Regions from separate parts of the Homo sapiens genome. Here region 2 is linked to region 1. The links are contacts of gene promoters, found by promoter capture Hi-C in human tissues and cell types (Jung and others, 2019). All regions are on one chromosome and are shown on one strand. The core of a region is centred on a gene start or on the middle of the fragment in contact, and the rest is flanking DNA. Distances in the headings are between cores, read along the strand shown. Region 1 holds the start of GAL3ST1 (galactose-3-O-sulfotransferase 1). Region 2 overlaps LOC105372995 (a long non-coding RNA gene).

The links. The method cuts DNA at HindIII sites, captures the fragments that hold promoters and counts their contacts. A contact is called where the count stands out against the background at its distance.
Region 2: a fragment that was not itself captured here is called in contact with the fragment with the promoter of GAL3ST1 in region 1 in 2 of the 25 tissues and cell types used here (dorsolateral prefrontal cortex and spleen).

What each region holds. Positions count from the first base shown.
Region 1 is chr22:30,573,035-30,576,204 of GRCh38, forward strand. GAL3ST1 (galactose-3-O-sulfotransferase 1) reads right to left here and starts at 1,631. Exons shown (of 4, transcript NM_001318104.2): 1 at 1,432-1,631. RefSeq lists enhancers at 189-870, 871-1,551. The HindIII fragment of the contact is 15,540 bases long and covers 1-3,170 here.
Region 2 is chr22:31,115,252-31,118,500 of GRCh38, forward strand. The region is part of intron 1 of LOC105372995 (a long non-coding RNA gene); the gene reads right to left. Among named protein-coding and RNA genes, the nearest start is that of INPP5J, 6.1 kb to the right of the region's middle. The HindIII fragment of the contact is 5,360 bases long and covers 1-3,249 here.

The sequences.
Region 1 (3,170 bases), core at 381-2,880:
CAAGGAGCTTCCTCCAGGAAGGGCTCTGCCTGAGCAAGCAGGGAATAAAGCAGGCTGAGGTGGCAGCTGGGAACAGGGCTTCGTTGTCTCGGCTCCCGGGGTAGCAGCCTGCTCACCCGCTGAAGTGTCAGGCGGAGCTGGGAGCCAGGGAGGCGAGGGGGGGTGTCCAGAGCTGAGGGTTTGGGGCAGCCCAGGCAGATCCAAGAAGGCAGGACCCCAAAGGAGCAGAGAGAGGTCATGGGTTGGGCTGGGGTCCTGAAATGGGGGCCAGGGCAAGACTCCTATGATTTGGAGTCAGCTCAGCTACCTCTGAGCCATGTGACCTTGGACAAGTCATTGAATTTCCCTGAGCCTCAGTATCCCCCTCTGGATAATGGGGATAGGTAGCAATGCCTCCTTCACAGGACAAGGAACAGTGCGTACACAGTGACTGCTCTGGTCCAGGACTGCCCTCCTGTGCCCCCTGTGTGGGCCTGGATGAGCCTCACCCTCTCTGGGCCTCAGGTCACCCCGTCAGTAAAGGAAGAGATTGGGTTTTCCCAACTGGAATGGACAGTCCTCTACACCTCTCTCCCCTCTGGAGGATTCTCATGCACCTGTCACCGCGGCAGCCCGGGGATCAGGTGTCAGGCATGCTGCCTTCTCTCCCTTTCCTTCCCCCTGGTGTGGGTTACAGCAGCCAGACATGCCCATCACCTCTCTGGCTCTGGGCAGCTGGGCGGGGCAGTTCCCACTGGGCAGGGCTCGGTCTGTAGTGTGCTCTGTGCTGGTACCAAAATGCTGGCCTGGCACCGAAGGGGCAGATCAAGCTGGACCCCCTTCCTGGGCACTGGGCTAGGAAACAGGAACTGTAGGATTTCCTATAGGACCCCTCCTGGATGCCAGGGTTTGTCCCACTCTCCCAAACCTCTCCTTGGTGGCTTTGCTTCCTCTGGGGTACAGGCCAGGGCCTTCCCCCAGCAGAGGGGATCCATCCCTTACTATGGTCTCCGGTTCCTGCTCTGATCCCCTTTCTAGGAAGGGCTGATGGAGACAGGGGAGATCTCTGCCCCTCCTCCCCTAGGGCTCTGGCCACTGTGTCCAAGATTAATCATTAACGCACTCCCAGCTCCAGCTCAGCCCCAGCAGCCTGCCTTCTGCCCCACCCATCCCACCTTCAGGGACTGGGAAGCCCTGGAAGGGGGGTTGGGGGACAGGGGAAAAAACCAAGGGCATGGGGGGCACCAACCTGTGCCCTCCCTGGCCCCTACCAGGCCACCCTCTGGCAGTGGGCAGGGGTACCCAGCGCTTAGAACAGCGGTACTGCACTCCTACTCCCCTCCTCCGGCGCGTGGTCCCAGTTTGGGGGTTAGCGTAATGTGGGCGGTATCCCCAGGGAGTAGACTGAGGCAGGGCTCAAGCTGGCAGTGGGTGCTGGAGCCCGGGACGTACCTTGTCCCCGTCCTCCTCCGCCTCAGCGTGGCTGGCTCGGCCCGGGCCGCGCCGCCCGGGCGCTCACTGGGCGGCGGGGCGCACCCGGCCGGGCCCCCCGCTCCACCAGGCCTGGTCCATGCCCCCGCCCCCGCCGCCGCTGCCGCGCCGCGCCCGCTCCCGCGCCGCGCCCGCTCCCGGCCAGGTGCCGCCGCCAGCCTGGCCCAGCCTCCGGCGCCGGGGCCAATGGACGCCCCGGACCCCAGACCCCTCCCCGCCCCGGGCCGGCCCCCTCCCCGCCCCATCCCGGCCCCTCTGCGCCCGCCCGAGACGCACAGAAGCCGCATTCAGCGCGCTGGGGCGCAACGCTGCGCCCCCGCCGCCGGCCCAACAAGGCCCGTTTGTCTCGGACGCGCCAACGGGGCCATTGTCCCGCCCCGGTCCTCTGGCTCAACGGAGCCCCCAGCCCAGAAGACTTGAGGATGCCCAGGCTTGGTGGTGGTGGGGAGGGGAGCCAGGGCTCTGGGAAAAAGGCGGCGGACGGACTATTGCTTAACTTTGGTTGGGGGGTCCTGGGGCCCTTAGGATCCAATGGATCATACGGCTTCTTGCTCTAGTCAGTGCCAACTGGGGACGACACATTTTTGGCACTCATGGGAGTGGAGGGAGCTCAAGCAAGAGACTGAGCTCCAACTGGTCCTGTCACCTGGAGGTCTCAGCTGTCACTCTCTAGGGTGCCAATGAGGGCTGAGCAAGGCCACCAGGAGGCAGGTGTCCCATCCAGGCCCTGTCTCATTTTCCAGGCCTGGCCTTTCCTTCTTCACCCCAGAGGAGCAAGACCATGGATGAGGACCAATGCCTGCCAGGGGCCAGGAATCCTCAGCGCCAGCTGTGGGCAGTAAGGAACCAGCTGGCCACCCAGTGGGGCCTGGGATGCGTCAGAGCCCCACTGCCCCCGCCATTACTGGGCGATTCTGGAATGGGGAAAATTCCACATCAGCATGGCTGCCAGGAATTTTTCCGTATCTGATGGGCCTGCGCTCTAGCCGTGTGGCCCTGGATGCACAGTTCCCCAGACAGGCCTGAGTTGTCTCCCGGGGCTGCAGGCTCTGGCTCCAGAGGTCCTGACCCTCTGTCCCAGCCTCTGGAGGCAACCTCACTCCCTCCCATCGCCGTGTGCATGACAGAGTGGGAATGGCACACAGCCCTCTCCTTCCACCCACAGCCAGTCCCAGCTGAGAGGGGGAGCCCTAGGTTTTCTGCTCCCCAGGCCAGAGCCTGCCCAAGCTCTTGCCTTCCCCCTGCACAGGTTGGACCTACATCCACTGCCACAAAAACATTCTCTGCCCACACAGCCAGCAAACAGTGAGAGGCAGAGGGCAAGGCCCTCAGGTGCCTAGATTCAGGGAAAGTAGAGCCATTCCAAACCCACACTTCCTCAGCGTGGCCCCAACCCTCGACAGCACTCACCCCGGGAAGTGAGTCCTGGGAGGGGCTGAGTGAGCACTGGGAGACCCAGGTTGTGGTCCTGGCTCCATCATGATGCACTGGCGGTTCCAGGCAAAGGCATATCCCAATGGGCGTCAGCAGGGACACTGCCAAGGTCAGCGGGGAAGCTGTCAGGCAGGCCTCACAGACCGTAAGTGCAGCTGCTGCGGAATCCTACGCTGGGAGGTACTCAGCGGTTCTGCCAACGCGCCAAGGCAAGCTGAGGGCAGGACCTCACCGCAGACCCACAGATCCTTCCGGTTCTGGCTTTT
Region 2 (3,249 bases), core at 117-2,616, 540 kb after region 1:
GGTCAAGCTTGTTTATTAGAATACCATTTATCGTGGTGAAGAACTGGGGATATAACCTAAGCATGTCACAGCAGGGGATGAGTTAAATTAATGAGTGTACCTCCATAGGATGGAAAACCATGCAATTGTTAAAAATGATGCAGCAGGCTGGGCGTGGGTGGCTCACGCCTGTAATCCCGGCACTTTGGGAGGCCGAGGTGGGCGGATCACCTGAGGTCAGGAGTTTGAGAGCAGCCTGGCCAATATGGTGAAGCCCCATCTCTACTAAAAATATAAAAATTAGCTGGGCATGGTGATGGCTGCCTGTAATCTCAGCTACTTGGGAGGCTAAGGCAAGAGAATTGCCTGAACCCAGGAGGCAGAGGTTGCAGTGAGCTGAGATCGCACCACTGCACTCCAGCCTGGGCGAGTGAGACTCTATCTCAAAAAAAAAAAAAAAGATGCAGCATAGATGGAATGACATGGAGAATGTTCGTGGTTATGGTATTAAATAGCAAGAAAAAAGCAACAAAAACAGTAATCTGGTAATATCAATTGGGAGTTGTGATGCTGTGGGCTGCAAGTCATAGAAACCCCAATTTAAACTGGCTTAAACAATAAAGGGAGCTGGTTGTGGTGGCTTGTGTCTATAAACCCAGCTACTCAGGAGGCTGAGGCAGGAGGATAACTTGAGGCCAAGAGTTCCAAACTATCCTGGACAACATAGTGAGAACCCATCTCTAAAAAAAGATATTTAAAATCTAGCCAGGCATGGCAGTGCCTGTAGTCCCAGCTACCCCAGAGGCTGAGGTGGGAGGACTGCTTGAGCCCAGGAGTTCAAGACTACAGTGAGCTATGATCATGCCACTGCACTCTAACCTGGGAGACAGAGTGAGACCCCATCTCCTATAAAAAATAAAAAATAATACAGTGAGCCAAGATCGTACCACTGCACTCTAGCCTGGGCAATGTGAGTAAGACCCTGTGTCAAAAAATAATAAAAATAAAGGGGCTGGGCCCAGTGGCTCATGCCTGTAATCCCAGCACTTTGGGAGGCCGAGATAGGCAGATCACTTGAGGTCAGGAGATGGAGACCAGCCTGGCCATCATGGTGAAACCCCCTCTCTACTAAAAACACAAAAACTAGCTGGGCATGATGGTGCACACCTGTAATCCCAACTACTTAGGAGGCTGAGGAAGAGAATTGCTTGAGCCCGGGAGGTGGAAGTTTCAGTGAGCCAAGATTGCGCCACTGCACTCCAGCCTGGGTGCCAGAGCGACACTCAGTCTCTAAATAAATAAATAAATAAAGGGACTCTGTTGGCTCAAATAATTTTAAAAGTCCAGGACAGGCACAGTGGCTGACGCCTGTAATCCCAGCAATTTGGGAGGCTGAGGCGGGCAGATCACCTAAGGTCAGGAGTTTGAAACCAGCCTGGCCAACATGGCGAAACCCCGTCTCTACTAAAAATACAAAAATTAGCCAAACGCAGCGGTGGGCACCTGTAACTCCAGCTACTCGGGAGGCTGAGGCAGGAGAATCGCTTGAACCTGGGTGGCGGAGGTTGCAGTGAGCCAAGATCGTGCCACTGTACTCCAGCCTGGGCGACAGATTGAGACTCCATTTCAAAAAGAAGAAAAAAAAAGTCCAATGGCAGGTGGGGCTTCAGGTGAAGTTTGATCCAGTTAATGAAGTCACCAAAGCCTGGTGTCTCTCCATTCTGCTTTCCATAATGTCAGTTTATCAGTAGGCCAATTTTCTACATGGTGTAAAGATGGCTGCCAGCAGTAACTAGAGCCATTGGCCTCTTCATTTACATCTAATGGAAGGAAGATCATCTTTTTTGGCAGCCTCCTCAGGAGAGAAAATAAGCTTCCTTTCCCAAAAGCCCTGAGCAAAAATTTCCTTGTATCTTGCTAGTTCATTCGTGATCTAATCATGTGCCTGGGGAAATGGGAATTGCTTACTGGCTTAACCAACTGGGACCCATTCCTGAAGCTGAGGGTGGGGTCCACCATATTCCAGTTCCTGTTAAGAAGGAGATGGGCTGCAACCTTAACAGGATCCTAACCCTAACCCTAACCCTACTGTGTTGCTGGACATTGTGGCAGCAACACAGTAACCAACCAATTCTATAAAACATGTATAGGCCCAGTCTTGGTGGCTCACGCCTGTAATCCCAGCACTTGGGAGGCCAAGGCATGTGGATCACTTGAGTCCAGGAGTTCAAGACCAGCCTGGTCAACAAGGCAAAACCCTGTCTCTACTAAAAATACAAAATTAGCTGGGCATGGTGGTGCATGTCTGTAATCCCAGCTACTCGGGAGGCTGAGGCAGGAGAATTGCTTGGACCAGAGGTGGAGGTTTCAGTGAGCTGAGATCATGCCACTGCACTCCAGCCTGGACGACAGAGTGAGACTCCATCTCAAAAAATAGATATAGCTATATAAAATATATAACACGTATATGTAAATATACATGTATATAAATATATATGCATATTATATACAACATGTATATAAATATATATGCATATTATATACAACATGTATATATAAATATATATGCCTAGACCCCCGCCCCCACCAAAAAATATCTATAAGGAAACAAACCAATAAGTCAGAACGATTATTTCTTGGTGGATGAAATTATAGGTAAATGTTTTCCTTCTGTGTTTTGTGTAATGGGCATGGATTACCTAAACACAAACAGTAAACTTTATTTACGAAAATAATGGGACATACCCCACTATTTCCTTCTACTCCAACCCCTACCCCAGCAAGGGCCTCAGAGTAACTGAAGCCAGAGGCCCCACGGAGTCGTTCTTGCTGCTGACAGAGCCAAACCCCAGTACCCCATGGGCCCTGGTTGTTTGCTGGACAGATGCCACCAAACCACTCTCATTGCATTAGCCTGGATGCTGTGGCCCCTAAAGGCCACAGCTTGGGCTGCTGAGGGTTGACCAACCAGCCAGTGGAACCAGTGGTGGAGACTGTGACCATAACAGTACCAGGAAGGAACACTGTGGCATCAGCAGCATGAGAAGCCCAAGATCTCCCAAGACAGATCTCTGCCCATAATCCATGCCTCTTATGTGGCAGCATGTAATTTAGGCCAGCAGTCTTCCTCAAGTGGGGCCAAGGTTGGGGATTAGTCTGTGATGGGGTCAGGCTCAGACAGGGTCTAGGTCAGCCCTTAGTTGAGTAGTCTGTAGCCTAGGGCTAGATACAGGGCTCAGTCCATGATTGGGCTTAGTCTTTAGTCTGTGA